Regions from separate parts of the Homo sapiens genome. Here region 1 is linked to region 2. Evidence: promoter capture Hi-C in 16 types of primary human blood cells and fetal thymus (Javierre and others, 2016). All regions are on one chromosome and are shown on one strand. The core of a region is centred on a gene start or on the middle of the fragment in contact, and the rest is flanking DNA. Distances in the headings are between cores, read along the strand shown. Region 1 holds the start of LIMK1 (LIM domain kinase 1). Region 2 holds the start of HIP1 (huntingtin interacting protein 1).

The links. Contacts are between HindIII fragments. The CHiCAGO score rates a contact against its expected background, and 5 or more counts as called.
Region 1: the fragment with the promoter of LIMK1 here is called in contact with the fragment with the promoter of HIP1 in region 2 in 1 of 17 cell types (neutrophils); the score reaches 9.1 in neutrophils.

The regions. Positions count from the first base shown.
Region 1 is chr7:74,082,484-74,086,283 of GRCh38, forward strand. It overlaps LIMK1 (LIM domain kinase 1), which reads left to right and starts at 1,321. Exons shown (of 16, transcript NM_002314.4): 1 at 1,321-1,562; 2 at 3,265-3,361. The coding sequence starts at 1,508. RefSeq lists enhancers at 21-699, 695-804, 700-1,378, 1,865-2,134, 2,646-3,245 and 1 more and silencers at 1,075-1,344, 1,465-1,514, 1,625-1,674. The HindIII fragment of the contact is 9,779 bases long and covers 1-3,051 here.
Region 2 is chr7:75,736,027-75,740,397 of GRCh38, forward strand. It overlaps HIP1 (huntingtin interacting protein 1), which reads right to left and starts at 2,915. Exons shown (of 31, transcript NM_005338.7): 1 at 2,775-2,915. The coding sequence starts at 2,894. RefSeq lists a silencer at 2,703-3,692. The HindIII fragment of the contact is 9,380 bases long and covers 1,305-4,371 here.

The DNA.
Region 1 (3,800 bases), core at 71-2,570, 1.7 Mb before region 2:
AAATTAAAAATTCTGGCCAGGCGTGGTGGCTCACACCTGTAATCCCAGCACTTTGGGAAGCCGAGGAGGGTGGATCACCTGAGGTCAGGAGTTCAGGACCAGCCTGGTCAACATGGTGAAACCTCATCTCTACTAAAAATACAAAAATTAGTCGGTCATGGTGGTGCACGCCTGTAATATCAGCTACTCGGGAGGCTAAGGTGGGAGAATTGCTTGAACCTGGGAGGTGGAGACTGCGGTGAGCCGAGATCCCGCCACTGCACTCCAGCCTAGGCAACAGAGCGAGACCGAATCTAAAAAAAGAAAAAAAAAATCTAGTATTTTCTTCCCACCCCACGTAATTGTTTTGCACCCAGGGGTGAGTGCCCCCCACTTTGCAGACGTGCCTAGACCTCTCCCCACAAACATGATGACTAGAGTTGGAGCTGGGCTAGCGCTGCCTCTTGTTCACTGGGTTCACGTGGGCACGTGGCTCCACTCCGGTCACTGCTTCCTGGGCAGAGGGATGACGTGGAAGGTAGACCTAGGGGGGACAGGGTTGCTTCCTGCCCATGTCCAGCATTCTAGAATTGTCCACATCTAGGCAGGGCGTTCCACCATCAGTGCTGGACTGGACCACCCAATTCCTTTGGACGCTTGACTCAGCCCAAACCCGTGCTCCCTCCAGGACCCTGGGCAGGGCAGCCCCAGCTCCAGGTAATCGGCACTGAGAAGAGTACACCTGTCACCGCCTGGCAGGGGCTCGCTCCTTTCTCTGGTGCTGCTCATTCGCGAGGCCTGAGACGCGGACCGTCACCTTCCCCGGGCCCAGCCTGGCCTCAATGCAGGCCTCAGAGAGAGGGACAAAACCCGGCCCGCCTCCCTCCCCTCCCCAAGGCGACCACCAGTGTCCTGGGGGTCCACAGGGCCTCTCCAGCTCTGATCCGAGTTCCCGGCTGCAGCTGGTTTGGGTCTGTGGGGGCCTCGCGCAGGGAAGCGGAGGCCCCTTCTCTAGGCTCCTACATCCTCCTGGCCTGCCCCAGCAGAGCTAGCGGCCCTCCGAGACAGCTGGGCCTCGCAGCTCCCAGCCGAGGCCTGTCGCTGGGAGAAAGAAGAATGAATGAAGGGCGGAAGGGGCGGGGAGGGGCGGGGCGCGCCGCGCCAGCTCGCGGCGCCCCCAGGCCGGGCCGCAGCGGGGCGTGGCCTCTAGAGGCGTGGCCTTGGGCGTGGGGGCGGGGTTTTCTGGTGGGGGCGGGGCCGCGCAGGGCCGTTCCCGCCGCCGGCCGCCCGCGCCCCGCCCCCGTGCCGCAGCTCACAGGCCCCGCCTCGGTCCGCCCCTCCGCTCGCTCCCCAAGCCGCCGCGGCGCCGAGCCGGTTTCCCCGCCGGTGTCCGAGAGGCGCCCCCGGCCCGGCCCGGCCCGGCCCGCGCCCTCCGCCCCCGCCTCCCCGGGCCGGCGGCGGTGGGCGAGCTCGCGGGCCCGGCCGCCCCCAGCCCCAGCCCCGCCGGGCCCCGCCCCCCGTCGAGTGCATGAGGTTGACGCTACTTTGTTGCACCTGGAGGGAAGAACGTATGGGAGAGGAAGGTGCGCGGGCCGCGGGGTGTGGGGCGAGGGCCTGGAGGGGGTGCCCGGGGCAGCGTGGGGCACGGGAGGGGGCCGGGTCTGCCAGGAGGCCGCGCCCCTGCCTCCTCCGGGATGAGCTCGTCCTTACGAAGCCCGCAGGCCCCTCCCTGTCCCCCTCCCGCCCGGGATCCCCCTCCCCGGCCCCCGGCGAGCTGCCCTCCTGCGGGTCTGGGGGCCCCTGGACCCTTTTTCCTCCTCCCACGTCCCCCCGCGAAGGACTCCCAGACACTGCCCACCCCGCGTCGGCCTCCATCCGCGTGCTCTGTCCACCACCCGGGCCTCGCCCTGGGGCCACCCTTTATCCAGTCTCGGAAGAAAGAGCGGCTGGGGAAGCCGCAGCCCCGGGTCCCAGTGGCCGCCGGGCGCCTGCCCGGCTCTGTGACCTTGAGCCAGGCGCTGACTTCCTGGTCCTCAGTTTCCCCTTCTGTACATTTGGAAACTGGGTAGTTGCCCCCCCGGTGTCGGTGATTGGGGGCCAGATGGGTAGAGCGGAGATAGGCGTCCAGGAAGCCGGAGGCCGTGTACTGCGGGAGCCTCATCCACTCTCCCTGTCCGTGCCCCAAACCCGGTGCCTGCCCTCAGTCTTGGCTGGGAGCATGACTCATCCTAACCTCCTCTTTAGCCCCTTCTCCCTCACTGGGGCCCAAGGCGCAGTACTGCACTGCAGTTAGGGTTCAAGGACTCCCCCAGCCTAGGACAGGGTCTGGGGGCCCCTCCTTGGATCTCCTTCGCTGACCTGTCACTTAGATCCACCTGGCCCCAAGGCAGGGCCTGACTCCACACCTCCCCCTGCCACCAACTCTTCCCAGGCCCATGAAAACCTGATTGGGGTAGGGGCCCACCTTCCTGTAGCCCCTGCCTACCTAAGGTACCTGCGTCTTCACAGAGGGTCAGGCTGTTGTGGCCTTGGGACCTAGCTATGTGACTGGGCAAGCCATGCCATCTCTGGGGCTCAGTCTCCCCTTCTGTACAGTGGAGAGGGGCAGGTCTGGGGCATTTTCCAGGGCCCACCAGCTCCAAGGGTGCCAGGCCCCAAGGATGACTAAGCATGCCTGTGGCTGGCTAGAGGAGGTGCCAGGCCTCCCTGGGACAGGTGTCTGGGAGTACCCAGGTCTGCAGCCCCCTCCCCTTGCCAAGCCAGGGCATTCATTGCCAAGGATCTGTTAGGGCCGGCACCTCCAGGCTTCCTGCCCTTGACCTCCCAGCTGGCTTCAGCCCAGGATGCACTAATCCAGCCCTGTCCAGTCCCTGCCTTTGAAGGGCCCTCTTAGTACTTCTTCCTGGGCAGGAGAGGGAAGAAAGGAGGCTGTGATAGGAATGTCACCCACTGCCTTATCCCTAAAGCCACTGCTTCCTTTCTCCTCATTTACCTTGCCAGATCCAATGCTATAGCGGGAGGATGGACCTGATCCTCCTCCTAAGCTGATACATAGGGAAACAGGGCCAGAGAAGCTTGGCAACCTAGTCAGTATCTCAGCAAGACTCAGGCCAGCGCCCTTTCTTCTCCTATTTGGCACAGCGACTGCCCTGCCTGGGCGCTGCACATGTGCAGTGTGCGAGGATTGGTGCAGGTGTAGGTATATGTGGGGTGGGCAGGGCAAGCTGGGCCTGCACCAGATCACACTTCCTGAGAATGCTTCCCAACTCCCTTCCCACCCTGCAGGAAGCGAGTTGCCCGTGTGTGCAAGCTGCGGCCAGAGGATCTATGATGGCCAGTACCTCCAGGCCCTGAACGCGGACTGGCACGCAGACTGCTTCAGGTAGGGTGGGGTGCCCAGGGCCTGTGTTGCCCTAAACAAGGCCTGCCAGAGAGGACAGGCTGGTCAAGGAATGGGGGAGGCCGGGATATGCCTCCTGGTGCCGTCCCCTATTGTGACTTCGTGGCCTTAATTTACCATTTATGACATGAGGTGTTTTGACTAGAAAATCCCTACAGGCCTTCCTGTTGTCATTTTATTTATCTATTTTTTTTTCTTTTTGAGACGGAGTCTCGCTCTGTCACCCAGGCTGGAGTACAGTGGTGCGATCTTGGCTCATTGCAACCTCTTCCTCCTGGGCTCACGCAGTTCTCCTGTGTCAGCCTCTGGAGTAGCTGGGATTACAGGCGTGCACCACCACGCCCAGCTAATTTTTGTATTTTTAGTAGAGACGGGTTTTGCCATGTTAGCCAGGCTGGTCTGAAACTTCTGACCTCAAGTG
Region 2 (4,371 bases), core at 1,665-4,164:
CAAGACCAGCCTGGGAAAACACAGTGAGACCTCCGTCTTAAAAAAAAAAAAAGTTAAAAATAAGAGTTTCAACATCAGAAAAATTCTCTTTTTCTGCTCCACTCTACTTCACCCCCACCCACCCCACCCAGGTCAAATCTGGCCAATCACAAATGTCCCACAGAATGTAAAACACCAGAAAACACTGACCTAGACTCTCCTGTTGGGCCGTCCCTGGATAGCAGGGAAACATACCACTCACGGGTGGAAACTTTCACAAACCTAATTTCTATCACTATTATGGGTCAAAGTCTTACGCATATTTCTCTATTGCTCTAGTTTTTACTTATTTGAGACTCTAGAAGGAACGGGTTGTTAAAAAATAATATCTATTTATTTTCTTATTTCATTTATTAAAAAAAAAAATAGGGCTGGGTGCCATGGCTCATGCCTGTAGTCCCAGCACTTTGGGAGGCAGAAGCAGAAGAATCACTTGACGCCAGGAGTTTGAGACCAGTCCGGGCAACACAGTGAGACCCCCATCTCTATGAAAATATAAAAATAAAAGGAATATACACACTGTTTCATGGAGCAAGAAGCCTCATGTAACTAGGCAGCTAGCAGAGGCACTAACATCCAAGACCAATGGAAAACTTCCTTCTTTTCAGGGGTCGGGTCCATGAAACCAGAGAACAAGCCTCAAACCTAGCTGGATCCTGGGAGGCAGAAGTGAAATGACCATTTCCCACTTCCCTCCTGGGGTAGGATAACCAGGTAGAGAAGACTCCCTGCTTCACACCATCCAGACACACCTGCATGGAGGCACTTTCTTTTTTTCTTTTTCTTTTTTTTTTTTGTAGAGACAGGGTCCCACTGCTTCACACTATCCAGACACACCTGCGCGCGGTTTTCTTTCTTTTTTTCACTTTTTTGTAGAGATAGAGTCTCACTCTGTCACCCAGGCTGGAGTGCAGTGGCACGATCATAGCCCACTGCAGCCTCAGCCTCCTGGCTCAAGTGACCCTCATGCCTCAGCCTCTCAAACAGCTGGGACTATAGGTGTATGCCACCACACGAGGATAATTTTAAAATTTTTTCAAAATAGAGGCGGGATCTCAGTGTGTTGTCTAGGCAGGTATCGAACTCCTGGGATCAAGTGATCCTCCCACCTTGGCCTCCCAAAGTACGGGGATTACAGGTGTGAGCTAATGCACCCAGCCTAATTTTTTTATTTTTTGTAGAGACAGGGTCGCACTATGTTGCCCAGGTGGGGGGCCAAAGGTTTTCAGAATAAGAAGAGGGGATGAAGTCCTCTGGGGGTGAAAAGCTTTATTCTTTTTTATTATTATTATTTTGAGACGGAGTTTCGCTCTTGTTGCCCAGGCTGGAGTGCAGTGGCGCCATCTCGGCTCACTGCAACCTTCACCTCCCAGATTCAAGCAATTCTGCTGGCCTCAGCCTCCCAAGTAGCTGGGATTACAAGCGTCTGCAACCACGCCCAGCTAATTTTTTGTATTTTTAGTAGAGACAGGGTTTCACCATGTTGGCCAGGCTGGTCTCAAACTCCTGACGTCAGGTGATCCACCCGCCTCGGCCTCCCAAAGTGCTGGGATTACAGGTGTGAGGTACCGCGCCCGGCCAAAAGCTCTATTCTTTGAAAGATTCCATATACAGAACCTTCAGTCAGATTCTCACTGTCTTTTCTAACTAAAATCCCAAAGCCCTTTCCCTCCAACTGTGTTTGGGGGAAGTATTCCTCGCATAACACATCAGGGGACCAGCCTCTGGAGAGGGGGACCCAAATGGATCTTCAAAGGTTCCACTCTGAGCACAAGAGTGTAGAAGAAATCTGCCCCTCCAGCATTGGCACTGGGATTAAAAGAAGCGTTGTACTCTTTGAAATGGATTTTACATACAAATGAATTGATGAACACCATCAACATGTCAGCTTAATTCAGCCCAATCAATACACCAGGCATTAAAAACTCGGAGAAAAAAATGGATTGTGGCTTTTTGTTGATGACACTGAGGAATTTTGGCCCCAAGCCCTGGCCAGGCAGGACAAATAGGGCAGTCTGCCTATTAGCTGTCAGGCACATCTTGGGGGATAAAACCAAGACCCCAAGTCAGGGCTCAGGGGCACCATGGTCTCCACTTTAGCCCCCAAAGTAATTTTCCCACAAAGTGGCCACACTTTGCATTTCCTACATTCCTTTTCCCTGCTCCGACCCCTTCCGCCCGGCCTCAGAGCTGACAGCTGGGGCTGGCCAGAGCCAAGCAAGAGGCATCGAGAAAGGGGGATGCTAAGGGGTGGGGGGTGGGAAGGGATGTCAATGCAACCAAGAAGTGATCGGAGGGGAAGAGAGGTCCCCTCACCCTTCACATTCCCAGCCCGGCGCCCCCACTCTCCGCCCCCACACTTGAGCCTCCAAGTGGCTCCCGTGCGCTTCCCTTGTTTAGGGGCAACCCTTCCATTCCGCCCCTTTTCAGTTCCTTCCCCTCTCACCTCATCTTGGGACTCCTGCCCGGTACCCAGCCGATCAGGCTCCTCTTGGCCACGCATCCTGCCATCTCCTCCGAGCCCGCCTCTGCCCTTCTCCCCAGGCCAGCTGGGGTACCCTGGGGTCCCCGACCTTCCTGGGATCGCCCAGATCTGCACGTCAATGCCCCCGCTCACTACACCCTCGCCCCGTCTTCAACTGGGGCCTGCAAGACTCCTACTCCCTTCAAAGCCCCTCCCGGACACCGCGTCCCTCAGGGTGCCCCAGGGATGCCCCGGGGTCCCCCGTCCTCACCTGAGTCCGCTCGAAGCTCTCGCGCTCCGCCGCCTCCAGCCCAGCGCCGACCCCGCGCCGGCTCAGCACCTTGGGCAGTGGGTTGGGCACCTGCTTCATGGAGCTGGCCATCCGATCCATGTCGCCGCGAGGAGCCGAGTCAGGGGCCCTCGGCTGCCCCGGGATCCCCACGGCGCCGCCCGCCCCGCCCTACCCGCGGGGATCCGGCGCTAACGGGACGGCTCCCGCCTGCCATTGGCTGTGAGTTCTGCCAGTCTTCCAGAGACCCCGCCCCTCGCCGAACGGCTTCCCCGCCCGCCCCCGCCCCTTCAGGAGCCCCTCCGCTGGCTCGGCCCCGACTAGCCTCTCGGGGCCTCGAGGCGCGTGGTGACTGGTCTGGAGTCCTGTCAGTCACCGTGGTCCCGCCGTTCTAGGCAGGGCCGGGGCGGGGTGCGGACGGGGCGAGGCCTGGATGGGGCGTGGCCTGGGCGGGCTGCCCTGATATGCCCTCGCTCGCCCCGCCCCCGCCCGCGCACCGCCCTCTCCTCCCCTCGGCCGCAGTCCCCGCGCGCCCCGAGCGTGCTGCCCTCCGCCAAGCGCCGCCCACTACCCTGCCCGCTCCTGCAGGGGGCTATCCCGCGACGGCCCGTGGAGATGGGCGGGGATGACGCGGGCCGGGCAGTGGGGCCTCCCCCGGGGGAATCCCAGCCCGCCTGCGAATAGCCCGTTAGCTCCTTCCGGGCCTGGGACCCGGGAGCGCCGGACTGACCAGCCCTGCGGCCGCAGCCCGGGAAAGCGCAGCCCCGCGGGCGGGGCGCAGCGTGGGCGCCTGGCCGGATCCGGCTCAATGGGTGGCCGCCCCCACCCAGCTCCCAGGCTTCCCCGTCCTGCACTTCTCCATTCTGCCCCTGCCCATGCCCTCTGCAAGGATCGCAGAGCCCAGGTCCCGGAGTTCGGGGCTGAGTCCGCGGGCACCTCCCGGGACCTGCCTCCCAAACCTCATCAAAGGAACCCGTCAGAGCTTATTTGTTGGTAGAAAGCCCTGTAGACACTTTCGGTTTATCTTAGGCTCTGAGCCGCGCGTCCCATCCTGCTCAGACGTCAGCCAGGGTACCAGCAAGCAGAGAGAAGTGTGATGCTTAGCAGGAGTGCTGGAGAAAGTTAAAAGTTTTCCGTTAAACTCCAATTTAGGTGTGTTTTTGTTTTTGTTTTTGTTTGTTTTTTTTTTTTTTTTTGGTTTCATTTGGAGTCAGTCTCCCTCTGTCGCCCAGGCTGGAGTGCAGATCGTAACACACTGGGACCTTGAGCTCCTGGGTCCTAGCGATTTTCCTGCCTCGGCCTCTCGAGTAGCTGGGACTACAGATGCACGCCACCAAGCCTGGCTATCTTTTTTGCAGAGATGGAGTCTTTCTATGTTGCCCAGACTGGTCTCGAACTCGTGGCCTCAAGCAAGCCTCCCACCTTGGCCTCCCAAAGTACTGTGATTACAGACATGAGCTACAGCACCCGGCATAGATGTATTTTTTAAAAGTTATTTGAAACTCGGAGTAATGAATGGCACCTTTAGGCCTAACAATTTGGTGATTCGTGTGTGTGTGTGTGTGTGTGTGTGTGTTGT